3 separate regions of the Homo sapiens genome follow, and all the other regions are linked to region 2. Evidence: promoter capture Hi-C in 16 types of primary human blood cells and fetal thymus (Javierre and others, 2016). All regions are on one chromosome and are shown on one strand. The core of a region is centred on a gene start or on the middle of the fragment in contact, and the rest is flanking DNA. Distances in the headings are between cores, read along the strand shown. Region 1 has its middle 30 kb from the start of CLPB. Region 2 holds the start of LINC01537 (long intergenic non-protein coding RNA 1537). Region 3 has its middle 13 kb from the start of CLPB.

Region 1 (4,280 bases), core at 1,117-3,616, 110 kb before region 2:
AACACTCAAACCAAGCCATGTTTTCATTAGTTTTATTCCCCCAATTTCTAAGTCTCCAATTCATTTTCTCTTTTAACCTCAGCTGAAGCATCCTCGGGCTGGCTACCAAGTGTGCACATCCAGATGATCTGACTGATAAGCATCAGTTGCACATCAATCATCCAAAAGGAAAAAGAAGTGCCAACCATCCTAGAGTAGCCTCAAAGCAAGTACCAAACGCTTATAAGGGCAGCATATAGACGAATACCATTGCTCACAGTTTCATTCCAATTTTTCCTCTAGTTTCCTCCAGCTGGACCTTACCATTTAAATCTATTTTCCTTCCCTTTGATTTTTTCCCCTTTTACTTGGTGCTCAAAAAAATTGTTTTTTTCTTCAGGATTGGAGGTCAAATAAATTTTGTTTTGTTTTTAGTGGTTTTAGAACTGAACTCCATTTTCTCAAAGGTCCTAGGGTACATATCTTTTACTCTCCTTACTTGTCTTCCCAATTTGCTTATAACATTGTTTGGGGTTCCTTTATTTGTTACTTCTGTAACTTTAAATGCTAACTTACACTTTTATTTCTTGTTTCATTGCCTATGGGCTGTTTCTTGACCTCAAGTTTTTAAGATATTGGTGCTCTTGTTCTTTATTTACTCTTCCTTTTATCTTCCACCTCTGTTTCTAGCATCTGTGCTTTTATGTTAACATTGTCAAGTTAAAAACACTGATATTGCTTGATGATACTGTCTTATAAAAATAAATAAAATAAAAACATTGATAGTCTCTTCTTTTGCCATAATACATTCTGTTCAATCTAAAAGTTAAAAATCAATATGTGAATACATACAATCTATATTAGTTAAGAATATTTTCATTGTATGCAAGACTATTTTCATTGTAAGCAAAAAGTGGATTGATAGGCTCATGCAATACAAAAGTCCCAGATTAGGGCTGGCTACAGGTGTAACTGAGACAGGAGCTTGTGAAACATAATCAGGACATGGATCCCCTCTGTCCTTTGGCTCTGCTCCCCAGTTTGTGTTGGTCTCATTCGCAGAGAGAGTGTCTCTCCCCTGTGGTTTTGATATGACTGTCGGCGACTTCTGGGGCAACATCATTCCACATTCATGTCCAGTAGGAAAGTGTGAAAATCTTTGCCTCAACTTTTCATCTAAAGTCATAAGACTCCCTGTGATGGGACATCTTGGGGCAAGTGTTGCCTCTTAACCTGTCAGGTCATTGGTGAGTGCTTTGTGTTGTTTATCTTAAGCCTGGCTTATATGGGCCACCCTTAGACTTGAGAGCAGAGCCCCACTTAAATCAAATGGCTGATTGGAGAAGGGCCTTGAGCTAATTGGGGAATAGATATTATGTAATTCTCCATTTCCTTGTAATTTTCCTTCAACCCCAACTTCCTTTAACCTCAATGCCCATCTCCCCTCCCCTCATATATATCAATTCTCTTAAACAGAACCCTGGGAGAAAGTTTCAGGCCTCACACTCCTAATTTCTCCTTCTCCTTCTCCTTCTCCTTCTCCTTCTTCTTCTCCTTTTCCTTCTCCTCCTCCCTCCTCCTCCCCCCTCCTCCCCCTCCCCTTCCCTTTCCCTCTCCCTCTCCCTCTCCCTCTCTCTGTCCCTCTCCTTCTCCTTTCCTTATTCTTCTTTTTGAGACAGGAGTCTTGCTCTGTCACCCAGACTGGAGTGCAGAGGTGCAATCATGGTTCACTGCAGCCTCAACTTCCCAGGCTCCAGTGATCCTCCTACTTCAGCCTCCAGAGTAGCTGGGACTACAGATGCGGGCCACTATGCCTGTCTAATTTTTGTATTTTGGGGAGAGATGGGGTTTCACCATGTTGCTCAGGCTGGTCTCAAGCTCCTGAGCTCAAATGATCCACCCACCTTGGTCTCCCAAAGTGCTGGGATTACGGGCGTGAGCCACTGTGCCTGGTGACACCTCCAAGTTCTGAGTAGGTAGACTCTTCTGAGAGCTCCATCTCCTGAGCATTTCCTGGAATGGGTACAGAGAAGAGGAGAGAATGGTAGTGTAGATTCACCAGGAAAGGATTTTGAAGCAATTTTTTAGAAATGAAAGACAATGGCTTTTCAGAAGGGAACAAAGCTTTCATTACCTCCTTAACTTTCTCTAAATACTCCAGGAGATCAAATTTCTTGACTCCATATTCTCCAGCTCCCTCCCTGTTGGAGTCCTCCACCTTCCTCCTCCAATCTGGACTGGTTGCCTACTGGGATTTCCCTTCATTAACCTACTGGCTTCAATCTCAAGTCACATCTTTGTTGGTTTACTCACTTTTTTTTTTTAAATGGAGTCTCTCTCTGTCACCCAGGCTGGAGTGCAGTGGCTCGATCTCAGCTCACTGTAACCTCTGCCTCCTGGGTTCAAGCGATTCTCCTGCCTCAGCCTCCCTAGTAGCTGGGATTACAGGCATGCGCCACCACACCCGGCTAATTTTGGTATTTTTAGTAGAGACGGGGTTTCACCATGTTGGCCAGGCTGGTCTCAAACTCCTGACCTCAAGTGATCTGCCCGACTCTACCTCCCAAAGTGCTAGGATTACAGGCCTGAGCCACAGTATCCGGCCTAGACCATGACTAATTCTTAAGAGAAATAAGCCAATGAACAATGGAAAAGCTTTGAGAAAGGGCCCAGTGAGAGGGAGATTCTGCTTGAAATGTTCAGGAATCATTGGGGTGGGATAGAAGAGTGGAATAGAGAAGAATAGAGAGAATCCTGTAAAATATCTGAGCCCTGGTCACAACTCTGGCCAATGCTATTTCTATTGCATCCACTCTATCAGGAAGATCCCTTCATCTCAACCCTTTTTCTATGGGTTTCTCCAGGACAGGGAATAGCCATGAACAGTATGTTCATAGTCACATCCATCTCAGACTGAAGCATGCACAGGGTTTCCCTCTGAGAAGCTAGGTGGTACTAAATGGTTGGAGTCCTTTTCTATTTTTTTTTTTTTTTTTTAGTCTTTATATACAATAGAGTTATCTTTTGACTTCTAGTTCAAGATAGAGAATATGTGTTTGTGTCTTTTCCTACATAAGAACCCATTTCATGATAGAAAATAAAATTTAAGGCCGGGCACAGTGGCTGGCGCCTGTAATCCCAGCACTTTGGGAGGCCAAGGTAGGCGGATCACCTGAGCTCAGGAGTTCGAGACTAGCCTGGCCAACATGGTGAAACTCCGTCTCTACTAAAAATACAAATATTAGCCGGGCGTGGTGGCACAGGTCTGTAATCCCAGCTACTGACAGGAGAATCACTTGAAACTGGGAGGCGGAGGTTGCTGTAAGCCGAGATTGCACCATTGCACTCCAGCCGGGGTGACAGAATGAGATTCCACCTCAAAAAAAAAAAAAAAAAAAAGAAAATTTAAAAAGTTATAAACCCACAGCAAACAGAAAATAAGAGAGAGGCTATCAATGTAAGAGAAATTTCAATGCATTTTGAAGAGAAAGAAAGTGAATGAAGAGGTAGTTACAGGTGAGGCAGGTGCTGGAAGCTGCAGCGTGGAATATGCAAGGGTGTGTGGGGAACAGAGTTGAGAACCCAAGAGAACCCTAAGACACAGAAATGCTAGGACAGCCACAGGAGGAAAGACGACTCACCCATGAAAACTGGGAAATAAATTGAAGTTCTATAGATAGAACATTGTACCCTTCTTGCACCCTCTCCTGCCCCACCCACACACAGAAACCCTAGCAGGCAGGCATCTGTCTCTCAAGCAAATATTTAGAGCATGCTTCTCTAACATCTACACTCTTGCTAGCTGGTTACTAGATCAGCCTAGAACAAATCCCTCCAATAAACGAGCCCAGTACATGCTCCTAGAATCCCAGTTAGGTATTTATGGCTCATTCTTAAAAATAAAAGAAGTATTCCCAGGCATCTGAAAGCCTGCAAGATGAAATAGAGTAACCAAGAGGCTATGAAGAACAAGAACAAGGCTGGGGCGGGGTAGCTCATGCCTCTAATCCTAGCACTTTGGGAGGCTGAGGCAGGAGGATTGCTTGAGCCCAGGAGTTCAAAACCAGCCTGGGCAACATAGGGAGACCCTGTCACTAATAAAAATTCAAAAAAAAAAAAATGTCAGCTGGACGCGGTGGCTCACACCTGTAATCCCAGCACTTTGGGAGGCCAAGCCAGGCGGATCATGAGGTCAGGAGATCGAGACCATCCTGGCTAACACAGTGAGACCCCGTCTCTACTAAAAATACAAAAAATTAGCCGGACGTGATGGCGGGCGCCTGTAGTCCCAGCTACTCAGG
Region 2 (4,362 bases), core at 1,176-3,675:
TGTTTGTTTTTTTGTTTTGTATTTTTGAAGACAGGATCTTGTTCTGTTACCAAAGCTGGAGTGCAGTGGCACAATCATGGCTCACTGCAGTCTCGACCTCCTGGGCTCAAGCGATCCTCCCACCTCAACCTACCGAGGAGCTGGGACTATACAGGTGTATACTACCACACCCAGCCAATTTGGGTATTTTTTTTTTGGAGAGACAGGGCCTTGCTATGTTGCCCAGGCTGGTCTCAAATGGTTCTTTTTGAATGATTTCTTGTTCTTACTTCATGTTGCTAATATCTTCCCTTATCTCTTTAGGGAAATTTAAAGCATTTATTTTACATTCTGGACCCATCTGTTAAAGTCTGCCTGATTTGTCTGTGTTGTTTGGTTTTCTTTCTTTTCTCTCTCTCTTTTTTTTTTTTTTTTAGACAGTCTCACTCTGTCGCCTAGGCTGGAGTGCAGTGGCACCATCTCTGCTCACTGCAAGCTCCGCCTCCTGGGTTCACGCCATTCTCCCGCCTCAGCCTCCTGAGTAGCTGGGACTACAGGCGCCCGCCACCACACCCGGCTAATTTTTTTTTGTATTTTTAGTAGAGACGGGGTTTCACCGTGTTAGCCAGGGTGGTCTCGATCTCCTGACCTCGTGATCCGCCCACCTCGGCCTCCCAAAGTGCTGGGATTACAGGAGTGAGCCACAGTGCCTGACCTGTTTTCTTTCTTTTAGTTGTATTCTTTTGACCTGTGGACCAATGTTTCCCTCAGGGCAGCATGACTCGGATTGGTAATATGTGCTGGGGATGAGCTGAAGGCAGCATCCTAATCTGTGCTGGGTCCTGACCAAGGCGAGGACAAGATGTGAGGCCCAGGCACCCCACAGCCACAGCTGGACACTCCCTTCTGCTGGAGCCTCCTCTGACTGGAATATCTAGAAAAGAAGCAGCCCTAGGCATCTCCCTGGATTGTGAGCCACCCATCCTAGGGACTGGGGAGAGAAAGTGCTAGGATGATGCCCACGGGGACCTGGCTGGCCCCTCCTCACTGAATCAACTCACATCAGGAGTTTGTGCACAGGTGAAATGGGAGGCAGTGACTGTCCAAGCACTCCTCTCCAACCCAGTTCTCACTTTTATCTCTCCCTGCTCCCAGCGCACCCCAGGCTGCCGTGGAAAAATTAAGTGAGAAACTGAGAATGATAGTGAGAGAAATCTGTCACAGCTGACTGCATCTTCCTTCTAACCTCACAAGCACATCGTCTGCTCATTCCTGGGCACAGGCCAAGCCAACTATGGGAGGAATTTAGTTTATAGTTTAATTTTAAAACAAAAATGAGGCTGGGTGCGGTGGCTGACACCTGTAATCCCAGCACTTTGGGAGGCCGAGGCAGGCAGATCATGAGGTCAGGAGATTGAGACCACCCTGGCTAACACGGTGAAACCCCATCTCTGCTAAAAATACAAAAAATTAGCTGGGCATGGTGACGGGCACCTGTAGTCCCAGCTACTCAGGAGGCTGAGGCAGGAGAATGGCATGAACCCGGGAGACAGAGCTTGCAGTGAGCCGAGATCGTGCCACTGCACTCCAGCCTGGGCGACAGAGCAAGACTCCGTCTCAAACAACAACAACAACAACAACAAATGATGATAGCCTCTTCCTGAAACTAACCCCCTTTTTGCAAGGGGACCAAAACTGCCTTTATAAAACTTTATAAAACTAACAAATTGTCCATAAGTTTAGAATTATGGCTTAGAAGTTATGAAGCCAAAGGTCACAAGATTTGTAACCTCCCCAATTGCTCCTATAGATAACACCACTATTGTAAAACCTAAGACCGGTATTTGAGATATTTTTCAGACCTTGCATTCTGAGGAACCAGATGTTACCACCCAGACCAGTAACCTAAGTCAGGAAACTGACTCAACCAGTCCTGTGACCCCCACCCAGGAACTGACTCAGTGCAAGAAGACAGCTTCAACTCCCTGTGATTTATTCTTCAACATTCCCCATTTCCTAGTCCCCTGCCCACCAAACTATACTTAATAAACCCTACCCTCCAAATTCTCAGGACGGCAGATTTGAGAAACATCTCCTGTCCTTGGCTGGCCCTGTGATTATTAAACTCTTTCTTTGCTGCAGCACCTGCTGTTCTCAGTGCATTAGTCTTTCTGGGCAGCAGGCAAGAAGAACTTGTTGGGCTATAACACTGTTGTCTTTTCCTAGAATCCTATGCATCCCAATCAGTTCTGTAGTTCTCCCAGGGGTGATTTAGGGATTGAGAGTGGCAGCCATCTTGGCAGGATGTTGCCACACCTCCCATTCTCACATCTGACCCACCAGTCCCCAAACTTGATGTTGTGCTTTGTTTCCTGTATGGACTGATCTTGGTATTCCCTCAGAGAAAAATCTGGCTGTGCCGTCTATCAGACTTCATTCCCACACAGCTGCCCAGACACAGGGCAGCCTTCCTCTCAGAACATCTTCTGTATCCTGAAAGCCTCCAGTGGGTTCATCCTTCAAGTTAATGGACAGGAAAACTAAGACCAGTGAGGAATCCCAACACTCATCCTGCCAGGATAGAAAGGAAAGCCCAGAGGCATTGCAAAGAGTGCTGAAGAGCAGGGATTCGCTGTATGGGGACAACTCTTGCTTTGTGTTTCAGGACAGGGAACCCAGGAGTGCAAACCTCAGTCAGGTAAGAGGCCTGCCCTGACATCCTTGATCCTCCCACACCACCCATGCTGCCTCCTCCCCTGATTTCCCATGCCCCTTCCTTCATTCCTGCCCCAACCCTGATTCTCCCTTCTCTCCCCAGGTGCAGTCCAGAGCCTGTCTTGAGCATAATGGCTGCTCTGCTCTGCCCCCGACCCTCACCACCTCCAGCGGGGTTCATCATCCCAGTTTATGGACAGAAAAACTAAGACTAGAGGGGGAGGGCTTAGCTCCTGCTCGGAGGAGACCTTCAACTCCTTCACCTGCCTGGACTTGGCACCCTCCCAAGAGACTGCAACCAAGGTTATGAAAATAGCATCTACTCACCATCCTTCCTCAGCACACCCCCAACCAATCCACCCCTCAGTCCCACCCCTGTCTCAAGGAGACTGAGCCCCGAGAAGCACAGCCTCCTGCACCTCCTCACCTCCCAGCCTGCCTTCCTGGTCTATCTGCAATGTCCTCAAGTCCTTTCCCGTCCTCCTCATCCAAACTCCAAGACCTGCCTCACCTCACCCTCCTCCAGGAAGCCCCCTTCATGGTCTGGGTTCACTCCCTGTCATGACGTCCGCCCTCACCAGCACAGCACCAAGCCTTGCAATGCTCTCTAGTAGTTATTTCCTGCACAGAGAAGGGGTGAGGGAAGCATCATTTCTGCCTATCCCTGTTCACACGCAAGGCTGGCTCTGCCTTCCCAGGGACCGTTCTGCAGAGGGAGACCGCTCATCAGGCAGGTACCACCTCCAGGGATCTCACTAAGGTAGAACTGATGGGCCTCAGTTCTGTTCAGAGAACAGCTATACAGGCTGGAGGCCTCCAAGAAACAGTTTCCATTTTCCCTGAGGAGTCTGTATGGATGTGTACTGTACAGGGTATAGGCTGTATGGAGTCTGCAGGTAAACATGCCTGTGTGTCAAAGAATGAGTCTGTATGGGTGTGTACTGTACAGGGTATATGCTGTATGGAGTCTGCAGGTAAACATGCCTGTGTGTCAAAGAATGAGCATGTGTGTGTGTGCATGTGTCAGCATGAGAATGCCTCTGTGTTTGTGAGTGTGAGAGGGTCATATAGGTGCAGCATTCTGTTGATGGAGAGTCAAACTCTGTAAAAAAAAATTTTTTTTTTCTTTAGATGGAGTCTCACTCTGTCACCCAGGCTGGAGTGCAGTGGCGCGATCTCGGCTCACTGCAACCTCCGCCTCCCGGGTTCAAGCAATCCTCCCTGCCTCAGCCTCCCAAGTAGCTGGGATTATAGGCACCTGCCACCACGGTCGACTAATTTTTGTATTTTTTAGTAGAGACTGGGTTTTCGTCATGTTGGTCAGGCTGGTCTTGAACTCCTGACCTCATGTGATCCACCCACCTCCGCCTCCCAAAGTGTTGGGATTACAAGCGTGAGCCACTGCACCCAGCCTGTAAAATATTTTAAGAGATTTATTCTGAGCCAAATATGAGTGACCGTGGCCTGTGACACAGCCCTCAGGAGGTCCTGAGAACATGTGCCCAAGGTGGTCGGGATACATCTTGGTTTTATGTATTTTAGGAAGGTATGAGACATCAATCAAATACATATAAGAAATACATTGATTTGGTTCAGAAAGGCAGAACAACTCAAAGCGGGGGGCTTCCAGGCTATAGGTAAATTTAAACATTTTCTGGTTGACAATTG
Region 3 (4,566 bases), core at 2,048-4,547, 120 kb before region 2:
GTCCAGGGAGGGTCCTGCTTCTTCCATATACTAGAGGTTTGGTCTAGGTCAAGGGTTTGGTCTAGGTCAGGGGTGTGGCTTAGGTCAGGCCTGCTGCTCCCCTTTCTTGGTGCTACAGCCTAGAAGATGGGAGCTCAGTCTCAAATCCATCTCCCTGACTGATTAAAACTAGGGGTTTATACATCAGGGAAGAAATGTAACAATGTGTAAAAAAACAGGAACTAGGGAGGGGCAAAGGAAGCAATCATAATGAATGAGGGGTTGTCATCTGGTGCTGTGATCCATTGAGTTTCAGTTCTTTGATACTTTTTCCAGAGGCCTGAAGGTTGTTTCCTGAGGAAGGAACTCAGATAAAACAAATATAAATTTCAAGCTTTAAGATCAGGAGGGTCAATTTCTATGTTTATCAAAAAGAACCATCTTTGGGACTATTGGATTGGTTTCAAAAACAACCTAAACTTCTATCAATACATAAAAGGATAAACAAATTGTGGTATATCCATACAATGGAGTGTGACTCAGCAATAAAAAGGAACTATTGATATGCACAATGACATGGATGAACCTCAAGATATTAATGCTGAATGAAGCAAGTCAGTTCTACAAATAAATAAGCAAGCAAGCAAACACAGACTACACATTGTATTATCCAATTTTATAAGATTCTAGAAAATAAAAGCAAATACTGTATATAGTAACATAAAGCAGAACAGTGATTGCATGGGGATGATAGGATTACAGGGGTAGTGGGAGGAAGGGTTTACAAAGGGGCACAAGAAACTTTTGGAAGTGATGGATATAGTCATCTTGATTGTGGTGATGGTTTCAGAGGGGTACATATGTCAAAATTCATCAAATTTACACTTTAAACGTGAAATTTACTGTATGTCAGTTATACTTCAATAAAGCTGTTTCAAAAAGCTATAATGAGATATAGTTCACCTCAGACTGGCATATATACTGCATGTATTATTACGTATTATATATGTGTGTATATATATATATATATATATAAAAAAAACTGCGTGGCAAGTTTGTAAAGAAAAAACACTCATATTGTTGCTGGAAATGTAAATAGGTACAACTTCAATGGAGGGCTAATTGATAATATCAAAATATTGGAATTTAAAATCTAGATATACTTGCAGGTGTATAAAATGAGGAATGGTTTGAGATATTTGTAAGAGAAAGAGATGAGAAGCCATCTGAATGTCCATCACTGGGACATTGGTCAAATACATTAAAGCTAAACAATGGAATATTTTTTTAAACAGGGTAACACTGTTTTAATATGGAATGCACCGAGATATTTTAGGTACAAAAAAGTTCAAGGCGCAGAACAGTTGTATACAACCACTGGTGTTATTTGAAATATATATCTACTTGGCCAGGCGCAGTGGCTCATGCCTATAATCCCAGCACTTTGGGAGGCCGAGGCGGGCGGATCATGAGGTCAGGAGATCGAGACCATCCTGGCTAACACAGTGAAACCCCGTCTCTACTAAAAATACAAAAAAAAAACAAAAATTAGCCGGGCGTGGTGGCCGGTGCCTGTAGTCCCAGCTGCTCGGGAGGCTGAAGCAGGAGAATGGCATGAACCTGGGAGGTGGAGCTTGCAGTGAGCCGAGATCACGCCACTGCACTCCAGCCTGGGCTACAGAGCGAGACTCCGTCTCAACAAAAAAAAAAAAAAAAAAAAAAAAAAGAAATATACATCTACTTATGTGGTTTTATACCTAGGATATCCCTAGAAGGATATCCATCCCATGTGTATAATAAAAATTGTTGCCCATGGGTTGGGCAAAGTGGGGCTGGAGGAAAAGGGACAGAAGTAGGGAGGGAAGAAGAGTTTACTTTCCACTGTATACTTGAATTCTGTTCTATATGTACATATTACATATTCAATCCAATCAACCAATCCCTATTATTTCTATATCAATATTAACTTTAAACTACTTCTGCCATCAGGTAGAGGGAGTGCTTTTAATTTCATCCAGACTGCCACATTTTTTCTCAAGTAGAGACACTGACATCTTGTGGGCTTTTGGGATAATGCAGTGAAATAGCATTAAAATCAGCATATTCACCATTCCATTCCATTCCACTCCACTCCATTCTTCTCAACAAATTATTTGGCATTCAATGCCTATGCTGGGCTTTTGTCCAACTCTCTAAAGCTTACAAAGTTTCAATAATATTCAGCCTCATTTATTGAGCACCTGTAAGGCATGGGTTACTGAAACTGTAGTCATGAAGAAGCCATGGAGCTCTGGAGGGGCATGCAGACAATAGGCCATGTCAGCAGAGAGTGGTGAGTGCCACGATTGAGATAATTCTGGTGTCCCTGGGAGCACATAGCAAGCCGAGTGGTCAGAGAAGGCTTCCTGAAGGAAGTGACATCTAAGCTGAGCTCTGCAGGAGGAGCTAGAATTGACCAGACGAAAGGGATTACAGTAGCTGATGTAGGGTGGGGCACTTGGAGAATAGGGTCACTGTAGGTAAAGGGAACCCTACGGGCAAATGAGCAGAGGCAAGAGTGCAATTCTTTTTTTTTTTTTTTTTTTTTTTGGCAATGCATGTTTGAGGAACTGAGTGTTCAGTGTGGATTAAGTGTAGAGTGGGAGGGGCTAAGAGGGGATAATGAGGCTGAACCAGAGGGGTTAAGTAACTTACTAGGTTCTCCCAGCAAGTACTTAGTGCACCAAGAATTTGAACCCAGGGCTAAATGACTTAACCATTTTCTCTTATACTCATCATGAAGACTTTGCTCCACGAGCCTTTACTAGACCCCATGCCTACTGCCACTCTGCTTCTTCCAACTGGGCACAAAGCTTAGCCAACTGCTTTCCCTCTCTTGCTCCTTATTTCCCTCTCCTTCCTTCCTTCCACATTGCTTGTTTTCTGCAGCCTTGGTGCTAGGGAGAAGACAGAGAAGGCACTTTGGGTCAGGAGGTGATAATTCAGATCTCAGAGGAACTGTCCACTCTGCTCATGTTGATAGATAAAGCTGATAGATGAAAATGATTCCTGCATCAGAGCCTCTCTCCGTCTCTCCAGCTTAGTAGAGCAGGGTGGGGCCTGGGGTGGGGATGGTGGATGAGCCCTGGCATTGAAAGCTGCGTCTCTCGGTAGTAGCCCTCTGTCTGTTCATGGGCAAATAAATGTGTGTACGTGTTTACTGAGTGCTTACTATGAGCAAGACTCTGCTTTTGCTGCTTATGCTACATTAATTCCAACAACAATCCTATGAGGAAGAGATTCTCTCCACTTTACAGATTCAAAAAACCCAAAATGGAGCAGCCTTGCTAGTGAAGTATGCAGCATGTCAGTCTCAAAAAAAAAAAAAAAATATATGTATATATATATATATATAAAGGTTAAGTAATTTGGCCAGGGTCACCTAGCTTGTAAATGGCAAAAATGGGGCTCAAATGGTCTGAATCCAAAGCCCAGACTGTTTACCACTACAAAATCCCAGCTCCTAGGAAAAAACAAAGATCCACATGTGATAGATATCCTTGAAGTTTGCCTAAGGTATGGAGGAAGAGAAGAATTGAAAGTATAGTCAACACAGTGCTGAGCCAATATGATACATTCTGAGCTGTGATGTGTGCGAGGGTGCACTCTCACATAACTGAACCAAAGGCACAAACAAATGAAAGGGAGGAAGGAAAACTCCAGGCAGGAAGGAATTCCCAGATGCTCAGCTGCACAGATGGCTCTTCCTTGAGAGCTAATGGGATGACCACCATCACTCCTTTTCCAAGCTTGAAGGCTCCCAGTCTTTCTAACTGGACAGGCATAAGACAAACTCTTTTTTCTTCTTCATTCATCTGAGATATTGGACAGCCTTCAAATATAACCTTACTAGAATGCTGACAAAATAACAAAACCTTAAAAAGCAAAGGGACAAGTGTAATTCTAGAGCACATATTTTTGATAGAACGGCGAGTGAGTGAACTCTGGCCATAGATGTGCTGGCTGGGCCCTCTGGTGGGCAATGAAACTTCTACTCTTTCCTTTCCCTCCACCCCATATCTGTTTTGCTTGGATGATGGAGCAAGCTACTTTGTCTCCTGTCACAGGATGGGTTCTCTGGAAGCAGAAGCTGAGATAGAGCTGTGGGTGCAAGATGGTTATTAGGGATCAATATCTGTGAGGAGAAGCGGGAGGGAGCAGGATTGGGCAGAGGAAGAAACTGAACTGTGATGCAGACCTGGCCAAGGCTTGGTCAACTGTATTAGTCCATTCTCACGCTGCTATGAAGAAATACCCAAGACCGGGTAATTTTTTTTTTTTTTTTTTTTGAGACGGAGTCTCGCTCTGTTGCCCAGGCTAGAGTGCAGTGGCACGATCTCGGCTCACTGCAACCTCTGCCTCCCGGGTTCACGCCATTCTCCTGCCTCAGCCTCCGGAGTAGCTGGGACTACAGGCGCCTGCCACCATGCCCAGCTAATTTTTTTTTTTTTTTTTTTTTTAGTAGAGACGGGGTTTCACTGTCAAGATGGTCTCGATCTCCTGACCTCATGATCTGCCCGCCTCAGCCTCCCAAAGTGCTGGGATTAC

Evidence for each region. Contacts are between HindIII fragments. The CHiCAGO score rates a contact against its expected background, and 5 or more counts as called.
Region 1: a contact is called between a fragment that was not itself captured here and the fragment with the promoter of LINC01537 in region 2, in 4 of 17 cell types (M2 macrophages, M0 macrophages, M1 macrophages and 1 more). The highest score is 6.8, in M2 macrophages.
Region 3: a fragment that was not itself captured here is called in contact with the fragment with the promoter of LINC01537 in region 2 in 1 of 17 cell types (M1 macrophages); the score reaches 5.1 in M1 macrophages.

Annotation. Positions count from the first base shown.
Region 1 is chr11:72,462,873-72,467,152 of GRCh38, forward strand. No RefSeq gene overlaps it. Among named protein-coding and RNA genes, the nearest start is that of CLPB, 30 kb to the left of the region's middle. The HindIII fragment of the contact is 531 bases long and covers 2,102-2,632 here.
Region 2 is chr11:72,568,231-72,572,592 of GRCh38, forward strand. LINC01537 (long intergenic non-protein coding RNA 1537) reads left to right here and starts at 2,426. Exons shown (of 2, transcript NR_126364.1): 1 at 2,426-2,677; 2 at 2,798-4,362. The HindIII fragment of the contact is 19,866 bases long and covers 1-4,362 here.
Region 3 is chr11:72,445,108-72,449,673 of GRCh38, forward strand. No RefSeq gene overlaps it. Among named protein-coding and RNA genes, the nearest start is that of CLPB, 13 kb to the left of the region's middle. The HindIII fragment of the contact is 936 bases long and covers 2,830-3,765 here.